Linked DNA regions of Homo sapiens: all the other regions are linked to region 3. Evidence: promoter capture Hi-C in 16 types of primary human blood cells and fetal thymus (Javierre and others, 2016). All regions are on one chromosome and are shown on one strand. Each heading gives the region's core, a stretch centred on a gene start or on the middle of the fragment in contact. The rest is flanking DNA. Distances are from core to core; before and after follow the strand shown.

Region 1 (2,901 bases), core at 315-2,814, 340 kb after region 3:
CGGCCAGAGCCCTCTGTGTTCGGCCATTGCCTGCCTTGACTGTCTTACCTGGCAATCATTGTCACCCCCTCCCCCAACCCCAGTCACCTGCATGCTCTTCAGACCACACCCTGCCTTTGTTCAAGCTCTGCTTCCCACCGGGAATGCCCTTCCCACTTCTCTCCCCCTATGCTGTATCACCCAATTCTGCCCAGCCCATCTCTCAGTAGGAAACCTCTCACCCATCGCCCAAGAACCACGTTCCATGTTGACCTCTCTCGTGTAGCTGCTGTCACTTGGTCAGTTATTTTGTTCTCGCTGCCTCGTTGCCATGAGATGAGCTGCCCTGAGTTGGGGTGGGGGGCATGTTGATCTGTTCTCATGACAGAAGCCTTTCTCTGGGCCAGGCCTCCGACCTGGTTTTGGTAGTCTGCTCCCCGGAGGTTGTGTGGCCAAGGAATGGCAGGGTCTGGTTGATGCCTGCAGTCTCCACATAAAGCAGATACCATTCTTAGGAAGGCAGTTGTCAATGGCATAAATAAATGTCTAGGAAAGGTAGTTCAAGTAGCTGTTTTACTTATAATTTATATGCAGGCTCCAGCGCATTCTGTGTCCACCAGAGCAGGCTCCCAATGGAAGGAGCTCACAGATCTCTCTTAGAACACTGCTCTGCGAGAGTCAAAGGCAGGACGCTGCCATAGTGAAGTGAGCATTGTCACCTTCTGGAGTGCCAACCCTGGCATGCAGGGAGACCCACGACAGCTCTGTCTTGGGGCCTCTCAGTCCATGCCCTGGGCCCCAGGTGTGGTCACACGAATTTGTGCATGTGCACACACGCCCTGCGTCAGTTTGTCCACAGGCAGGCTGACCTAACAGAGGTAATCACATAATAAAGGATAAAGTCCAGGAAGACATTTTCTGCTTCAGGTGGAAGCAGTATGGCAGTTTCCTTCTGTTGTGGCCCCCAGTGCACCTGAGAACAAGCATAACATGTCAAGGTTGAGATGAACATGACTCTGTAGACTTCAAAAAGAGGTGCAGTTGGTGGGAAGTCAAAAGAACCAGATTAAGAAAATTTTCATGGAAACTTCAGACTAATTCCCCTTGCCTCTGTCTCCCTGAATATAGCATAGGCCTAGGCAGTGAATCTTGTTGCAAGCCTGGTCCTAGTTCATGTTACTTCTAAAGCGAATCAAATAGGTATTTCTGGAGAGGACTCTGGCCTGAAAGGTGTCTCAGGAGGCCTGAGCTCTCATCCTGCCCTGGTTGCTGGTAACTTCTTTCCCCAGTCTTTCCTAGCTTAGCAGGTGGTTCTGTCTAGACCCATGAAGGTGACTGCTGGCCTGCCAGCATGGCCCCTCCATGGCACCAAGTGGCTGCATTTCTCACCACCTAAAGCCATCCAGCTCTTTCTGTGAGTGTTCTCTAAGGGCTACCAGGTACCTGGGACTGGGCTGGAGTTACGGACTTTTTTTGTTGCTTTTTTTTTTTTTTGAGATGGAGTCTCGCTCTGTCGCCCAGGCTGGAGTGCAGTGGCTTGATCTCGGCTCACTGCAAGCTCTGCCTCCCAGGTTCACGCCATTCTCCTGCCTCAGCCTCCCGAATAGCTGGGACTACAGGCGCCCACTACCACGCCCAGCTAATTTTTTTGTGTGTTTTTAGTAGAGATGGGGTTTCGCCGTGTTAGCCAGGATGGTTGCGATCTCCTGACCTCGAGATCCGCCCACCTCGGCCTCCTGAAGTGCTGGGATTACAGGCATGAGCCACCGCGCCCAGCCAAGAGTTATGGATTTTTAAATTCTGCACAGGCAATGAGGCTCCAGTTGTGCCTATGAGATGCAGCAGGCGTGTACCCTGTTGGAGTCTGGGACACCAAGCTGGGCCCTGCCAGGTGCCCCCCTTCTGAGATGTCCTGTTCTTTAGCTCCCTGGGCCACGTGGACTGGAAGTAGGAGCTTTCAACTGAGCTGGTGGTTTTCTCCCTTTCTTTGCAGGACAAGGAAGATGGGGAGCCAAAGACCAAGCATCTCAGAGAAGAGGAGGAAGAAGGCGAGAAGCACAGGTAATGCCCGTGTGCAGCTCCAGGGTCTGCTCTCTCCTCCAGCACTCATCGGTCTCCCAGTCTCTGGGTCCTCCCAACTCTGTTCAGTGTCTGCCCTGTTCCCTCCCCTCTTCTTTCTGCCCATGGCTGTCCTGTTCAGACCTTAAAATCTCAACATCTCAGAAGGCCCTTGTCGAGGCCTTCTCTGCCTCCTTTCCCTCATTTTCCATTTGGCTGTTACTCAGCCCCCAGCATTTTCTTTCTAGCCCTTACATTATGCCTTTTTACCCTTCTCATACACCTTTTGTGGCGTGGTTCTCCATTGCCTACTGAGTAAGTGCCCCTTCTGCACTTGGCATGTGAAGCTCTGCCTGGACCATCTAGCCTCATCCAACCTCCTCTGGTTTCCCTCTAGCCAGAGCCCTTTGTGGTCGGCCCTTGCCACCTCTGGCCACTCAGCATTTCCTGACCAGTCTTTTGTCCGTCCTCTCAGCCTGGAGGTCCTTCTCATCTCTCCTATACCTTTGATGTCTGGGTCTTCACATAGAGTTCAGCTCAAAGGGCGCCTTTCTCGTTGTCTGTGTCCCTCTGGCTTCATTTCCCTCTGTAGTATTTATCTTATTTTGTCGAATACTCTCATCTGGTTGGGTCCACTTAAGTTGCCTAAACACAGCACACGTGAGGGTCTTGGGTACACTTCCCTCGTGATTGCAGGCACAAGGTCTTCCCCCGCAGTCTTGAGGGCTGCAACCTCCACAGAGCCTCAGATGCTGCTTTGCCTCCCAAAAATCTGGAGCCTGGAAACTGTTGCCGGAACCAGTGTGTGGGGTGAGCGAGGCAAAGCTGTGCTGCTGATCTTTGTGAGCAGAGTGTCTGACTACC
Region 2 (2,930 bases), core at 287-2,786, 370 kb after region 3:
GAACATCCCCCCATAGATAAGGAGTGACTATATAGCACTATAGTGTATTATGGCAATTAAAAACCTTGTATCTGTGAATTAGACAAAGGTGAAGAGACAATTAGTGAATGGGAAGCTAGATCTGAAGTTTTCCAAAATGCAGCCCAGCAAGATAAACAGTGATAATGTAAAGCAAGTGGCTGAGAGACATGGAGAGTAGAATGAAGAGATCCAACGTAAAGTGACGGAGTTCCAGGTGGGAAAAAAAAAAAATGAAAATGAGGCAGAAGCAATATTTAAAAACTGGCTGAGAACTTTCCAGAAAAAATCACCAATTCACAGATTCAAGAAGACCAGTAAGTCTCAGGCAGGTTAATAGGAAGAACTATACATCCAAATGTTCTGTTTCTTCATCTGGGTGATGATTAGGTATTTTTACTTTATGAATATTCATTGAACTGTATACATGTTTTATGCCCTTTTTGTATGTTTATTCTAAGTAAGCAAATTTACTTAAAAAAATTCTACACTTTTTATTAATCATCAGTTGCTACACATAAATTACCCAAAACTCGGGGGCTTAAAATAACAAACACTTATTACCTCAGTTTCTGTGGGCCAGGAATCAGGAGTGGCTTAGCTGGGTAAGTCTAGCTTGGGGTCAGTTGTGAAGCTGCACTCATCTGAAGGCTGGACTGGGGCTGGAGGATCTGTTTCCAAGATGACTCATGGGGCTGTTGATTGGTGGCCCCTGTGTCTTGCCACATGGACCTCTCCATCGGCCTGTGTGTTCTCAAGACATGGCAGGTGGCTTTCCCAGAGTGGCAGTCTAAGAAAGAAGGCAGGAGGGAGCGTTGTGGGGCTTTCTTATGATCTGGGCTTGGAAGTGATATTCTGCTACATTCTGTTTGTTAGAAGCAAGTCACTACGCCCAGTCGACACTTAGAAGAATTAGCTTCCACTTCCTGAAGGGAGGACTGTGTAAGAATTTGTGGACTTATTTAAAAACTACCACATACCTAATCACATTGTAATAACATTAAAGAGCACAAAGACCAAGAAAATACCTTAAAATCAGAGAGAAAGGACATACTACCTTTTGAGGAGCAACATAGCAGCAGATATCTCAGCTATAACCAGTGTAAACAGGAATGAAAGAAAGTTGTCATCCTAGAATTGCATACTCAGGGAAAATATGAGACGTGTTTTTTGTTTTTTTGCAGAGATGGGGTCTCACTATTTTGCCCAGGCTGATCTTGAACTCCTGAACTCAAGTGATCTGCCCACCTTGGCCTCCCAAAGTGCTGGGATTACAGGCCTGAGCCACCGCACCTGGCCTAAGATGTTTTTAGACCAACGAAGTCAGGGATTCTGTCACCAGCAGACTCTCACTAAATGAAAATCTATTTTGGGGTAATGAAAATGTTCTAAAAGTGATTGTGGTTGCACAAATCTGTGAATATGCTGAATATGCCAAGAGCCATTGAATTGTACACTTTAATGGGTGGGCTGTATATGTATAAAGTTGTTTTTTAAAAATGAAATAAGCATTCTCCTTTTAAAAAAATCATAAAGGATATTTTCAGACTGAGGGGCACAATCCCAGATGGAAAGTCCAGAGAAAGGAAGTATAAATGTAAATAAGCACTGACCTTGTAAAACAAAAATGTGTTGTGGGGTAAAGCAGGGGCTATTTAGAATACATAACAACAATGGTATGTAAGTTCAGAGGTAGGAGGTGGTTGGGGTTACAGTCCTTGAAGACGCTCACTTAGGAAGAGGGATAAGACTAGGAAACAGGCCTCTTGACATTTCTGGGGTAACCTGAAAAGAGTAGAAACAGAGTGTACCACTTTCAGAGGAGATGAGAGAGGAAAAAAAAAAAAAAAAACCAGAATGGGAAAAAAGTAACTATCCAAAAGAAAGCAGAGAGAAAAGGTGGATTGAGTAGTTGAATCCAGATATATCAGTAATAGCAAGGTATTAGACTGCTTTTCTTTCTTTTTTTTTTTCCTTTAAACTCAGTTTGCTGAGTTTAAAAAAACCTGAAGCCGACTGGGTGCAGTGGCTCATGCCTGTAATCCCAGCACTTGAGAAGGCTGAATTTGCTCGAGTCTCAGGCAGATTGCTTGAGCCCAGGAGTTCAAGACCAGTCTGGGCAAAATGGTGAAACTCCGTCTTCTACAAAAATAAAAAATAAAAAAATTAGCCAGGCGGGGTGGTGCCTGCCTGTAGTCGCAGCTACTTGGGAGGCTGAGGTGGGAGATCATGTGAGCCTGGGAGTTCTGAGCGACAGAGTGAGACCCTGCCTCATAAATTAATAGAAACAAAGATTAATGGGACTAGAAAAGCTCTATCAAGCACAGGATCAACAAAAGAAAGTGGAGGTGGCAGGAGTGAGGCCAGGCAAGGGAGACTTTCAGAAGTGTCATTAGCTACACCACTGTACTGTGGAGCAGTGGGACCTCTCACCCACAGCCATAAGAGTGTGAAATGTGTAACCACGTTGGGAAAGTTGAACATGTGCACGCTGGGACCCATCAGTTGCGCTCTTAGTGCACTAGAAAACTTGCACATGTACACCAGGAGACAGGGACAGAAATGCTTGTAGAAGCATTGTTTGTAATAGCACGGGCACATGTGTGCACACACACACTAAATCAAAGCCAGAATGTGGTAATAATAAGTTGTCATTCTGAAAGTGTGATGTTCCATAGCTGTGAGAAGAGCTACAGTCATGTGCAACAAATGGATAGATGTTGAAAGAAGCAAGTCACGGAAGAAATAGAGTATGAGCCATTTGTGTGACGTTCCAAACAGGCGGAGTGAGACAATGTAAGGACACACGCAGGTGGTAAGGCCAGGGCAGAAGAGCAAGGTGGTGATCGTCAACTTCAGGCTTGTAGTTAGCTCTGGAGTGGGGCCCTTTGAGATAATGGCAAAGTGTTTTT
Region 3 (2,827 bases), core at 20-2,519:
AGAGACAGGGTCTCCCTACATAGCCCAGGCTGGTCTCCAATTCCCCCACTCAAGTGATCCTCTCGCCTCTCAAAGTGCTGGGATTACAGGTGTGAGCCACCATGCCTGCCCTGTTTGTTTTTTAAACAGGGATCACGCACAGATGCTGAGAGCTTTCCAGCTAAAGCCCAACAGGGAGCCCCACTGATCATCTCCCCAACCGGACGTCTCCACATGGTTCGGTGGCTTGGCCAGGCAGCAGCACAGCATGCCTCTTCCTCATGAAAAGACCCAGGCACAGGAGGGAGGCTGGCTCTAGCGACCAGAATGCTGGTGGGGAACAGGTGGTTAAGATATCTTTCCCTCTTAATATCAGTCAGCATCCCTCTCCCCACGCGGCCAGCAGGCCCAGCCCCGGGGACCTTTGTGGTGGTGAGTGGTGCCTTCCAGTATGGGGCAGGGTGGCTTCCCACCTCAAAAATTTTCCAGAGAAGATTTTAAAAGCTCTTAAGAGACAAAGTAGTAATTCAACAATTAAGGGCAATGATTCCTAAGGAGAAGCCTTCTCTTCTAGAACAGCACAGCCAAGTTCGACAGGCACAAAGAAATATCTGTAGTGACAAGAGAAGGTTCTTCAGTGGTGCCCATCAGCATGTGGAGCCGGCCACCGCCCCTGCCTCCATAGAAGGTAAGTCCATTTTCTCTTGTCTGCATGACAGAAAAAGGAGGCTGTCACCCGTGTCTCCCACTCCAAGGGCCTAAGCGGCGCACCTCTCAACCTTTCCTTTCAAGGGCTGAAAGGTTGTCCTCTTCCTCTCCCCACTCGGCCCCGATCCCCTTTTGCTCGGCACCTCTCTCCCCACTACTCGGCCCCCCTCACACCTCTTCTCCCCACCCCTCTCCCTGCTAGACCTCTCTTTCTCTGTCCCCCGCCCCTTTTTACTCCCCGCTCGACCCCTTTTCCCTCAGCCCGCTGCCGCCCAGTCCGCGGTACCTTGAGGGTCACGTCGCACAGCTTGCCCTGCCGCCGGATCTCCTCCATGACGCCGTAGCCGCGACTAGGCAACTCAGACACGGAGAAGTGCACCAGATCCTCCAGCTCCTCCGCGCCGTCCTCCACCATCTTCCCCGGCCGCTGCAACTGCGCAGGCCTCGCCGGCCGGCTAGACACTAACCAGGGCGGGGCGATAGCGCACGCCGACAGCCGCTCGGAGCGCGGAGCAGCAATCGGACGGGCCTCCGCGGCCGCCGTAGTTGAATCTCCTCGGCGCCGGAAGCCCCGCCACTCCGCTTCCTGGTTCATGTGCGGCCTTCGTTCCCTCGCTATCTCGACCTTGACTTCGCATGTGCATCCGCCGAAGTCTTTCTAGATCAATCGGCCCCATCTCTCGTCTTCCCGATTCGGCCATGACCTCACCCGTATCCTCGACGTAGGACCTCGGACTTCATTTCCGCCACCCCGACACTTCCGGAATCCCCGGAAGCGACCCGTTGCCATGGCGACTATGTACACAGCCAGGCAGCCCCGCGTGGGGAGTGCAGGTGGTTTCGGTTGCGGCAGTCGCGTCCCGGGAGCGTCGCTGCCTGGTGAACGGTGAGCAGGGGCTGCTCGCCGGTGGGAGTGGGGAGACGGGAAAAGGGTGTGCGCCCGGACTGCTGAAAGTGGCTGGGGTCCAAAAACCGCTTTATCTGGGGGTTCCCAGCTGGGTCGCTCATCTCTGAAACCCAGGCGAAGGAGGGCTCGACGTCGCGGGAGTCCTTTCAACCTGACCGCGGCTTACGGTCTTCGGAGCTAATGTTCATTGGTCCCACAAAGGGGTCCCACGTCGCGTCCAGGACATAGAGGCCGTGAGGCAGGGAGCCAGAGGTCGTCTGGACTCTTCCGTACTAGTCAGTTTTCGAACTAGAGGGGGCTTTGGGATCACCAGTCGGAGCCCTTCGTGTTACAGGTGAGGAAACCTCTCCAGAGAGGGACCGGAATGGGTCCAAAGCCCACTGCCGCCCAGGCTCCACGCGGGGGTCCGGCACATTGGGTGAGAAAAAGGAGAAAGTCTAGTTTTGCCTGCATCCTAGTCTTGTTCAGCCAAGGCCAGGTGCAGTTGGACCCAGTGTTTTGGATTCGGGTGTTGGTGCTGCCGCTACGGGTAGCTATGAGGGTTCCCCATGACAGCCCCTCATCTGGACGGGAGCACTGGAAGATAGGGACCCACCTGGTGCCTTCCACCCCACCAAACGCTCCCTTTCCTCTTGTCTAGTCTTCATGGCTGCTTGTTGCCAATTCTGTTCATTCCCACTAAAGACAAATGAGGAAACCTCGAGCGCCTTAACACAGAAGTCTCCTGGTGGCCATTCAGAGACTTGCTTTGTTATACCAGAAATATCAAAGGGTGGTTCCCCAAGGAGAGACATTCCCCACAAGGTCCTGAGGGAGAAAGGGAGGGGGCCGGGCGCCGTGGCTCACGCCTGTAATCCTAGCACTTTGGGAGGCTGAGGTGAGCGGATTGCTTGAGCTCAGGAGTTCAAGACCAGCCTGGGCAACATGGCGAAACCCTGTCTCTACGAAAAATACAAAAATTACCCGGGCGTGGTGGTGCACGCCTGTAGTCCTAGCTACTTGCGGGGCTGAGGTGGGAGGATCGCTTGAACCCAGGATGTGGAGGCTACGGTGAACCGAGATTGTTTCACTGCACTCCAGCCTAGGTGACAGAGTGAGACCCTGTCACAAAAACAAATAAACAAAAAACAAAAACAAAAACAAAAAAAGCGTGTGGTGAGGTGCTGGATGTGGATTTTTGCACCTGGAAACCAAGTGTCCTCCTGGAAGGGCTGTGGGCTTTGGTTGGAGTTG

Evidence for each region. The method cuts DNA at HindIII sites, captures the fragments that hold promoters and counts their contacts. A CHiCAGO score of 5 or more calls a contact.
Region 1: a contact is called between a fragment that was not itself captured here and the fragment with the promoter of KIF9 in region 3, in 2 of 17 cell types (neutrophils and total CD8 T cells). The highest score is 9.9, in neutrophils.
Region 2: a contact is called between a fragment that was not itself captured here and the fragment with the promoter of KIF9 in region 3, in 1 of 17 cell types (neutrophils). The highest score is 7.4, in neutrophils.

The regions. Positions count from the first base shown.
Region 1 is chr3:46,940,137-46,943,037 of GRCh38, reverse strand. CCDC12 (coiled-coil domain containing 12) reads left to right here. Exons shown (of 7, transcript NM_001277074.2): 2 at 1,973-2,040. Among named protein-coding and RNA genes, the nearest start is that of CCDC12, 35 kb to the left of the region's middle. RefSeq lists enhancers at 2,240-2,739, 2,740-2,901. The HindIII fragment of the contact is 9,713 bases long and covers 1-2,901 here.
Region 2 is chr3:46,915,227-46,918,156 of GRCh38, reverse strand. No RefSeq gene overlaps it. Among named protein-coding and RNA genes, the nearest start is that of PTH1R, 39 kb to the right of the region's middle. The HindIII fragment of the contact is 4,758 bases long and covers 1-2,930 here.
Region 3 is chr3:47,281,241-47,284,067 of GRCh38, reverse strand. KIF9 (kinesin family member 9) reads left to right here and starts at 1,269. Exons shown (of 21, transcript NM_182902.4): 1 at 1,269-1,573. It overlaps KLHL18 (kelch like family member 18), which reads right to left and starts at 1,124. Exons shown (of 10, transcript NM_025010.5): 1 at 974-1,124. The coding sequence starts at 1,102. RefSeq lists enhancers at 1,141-1,530, 746-1,945. The HindIII fragment of the contact is 6,231 bases long and covers 1-2,827 here.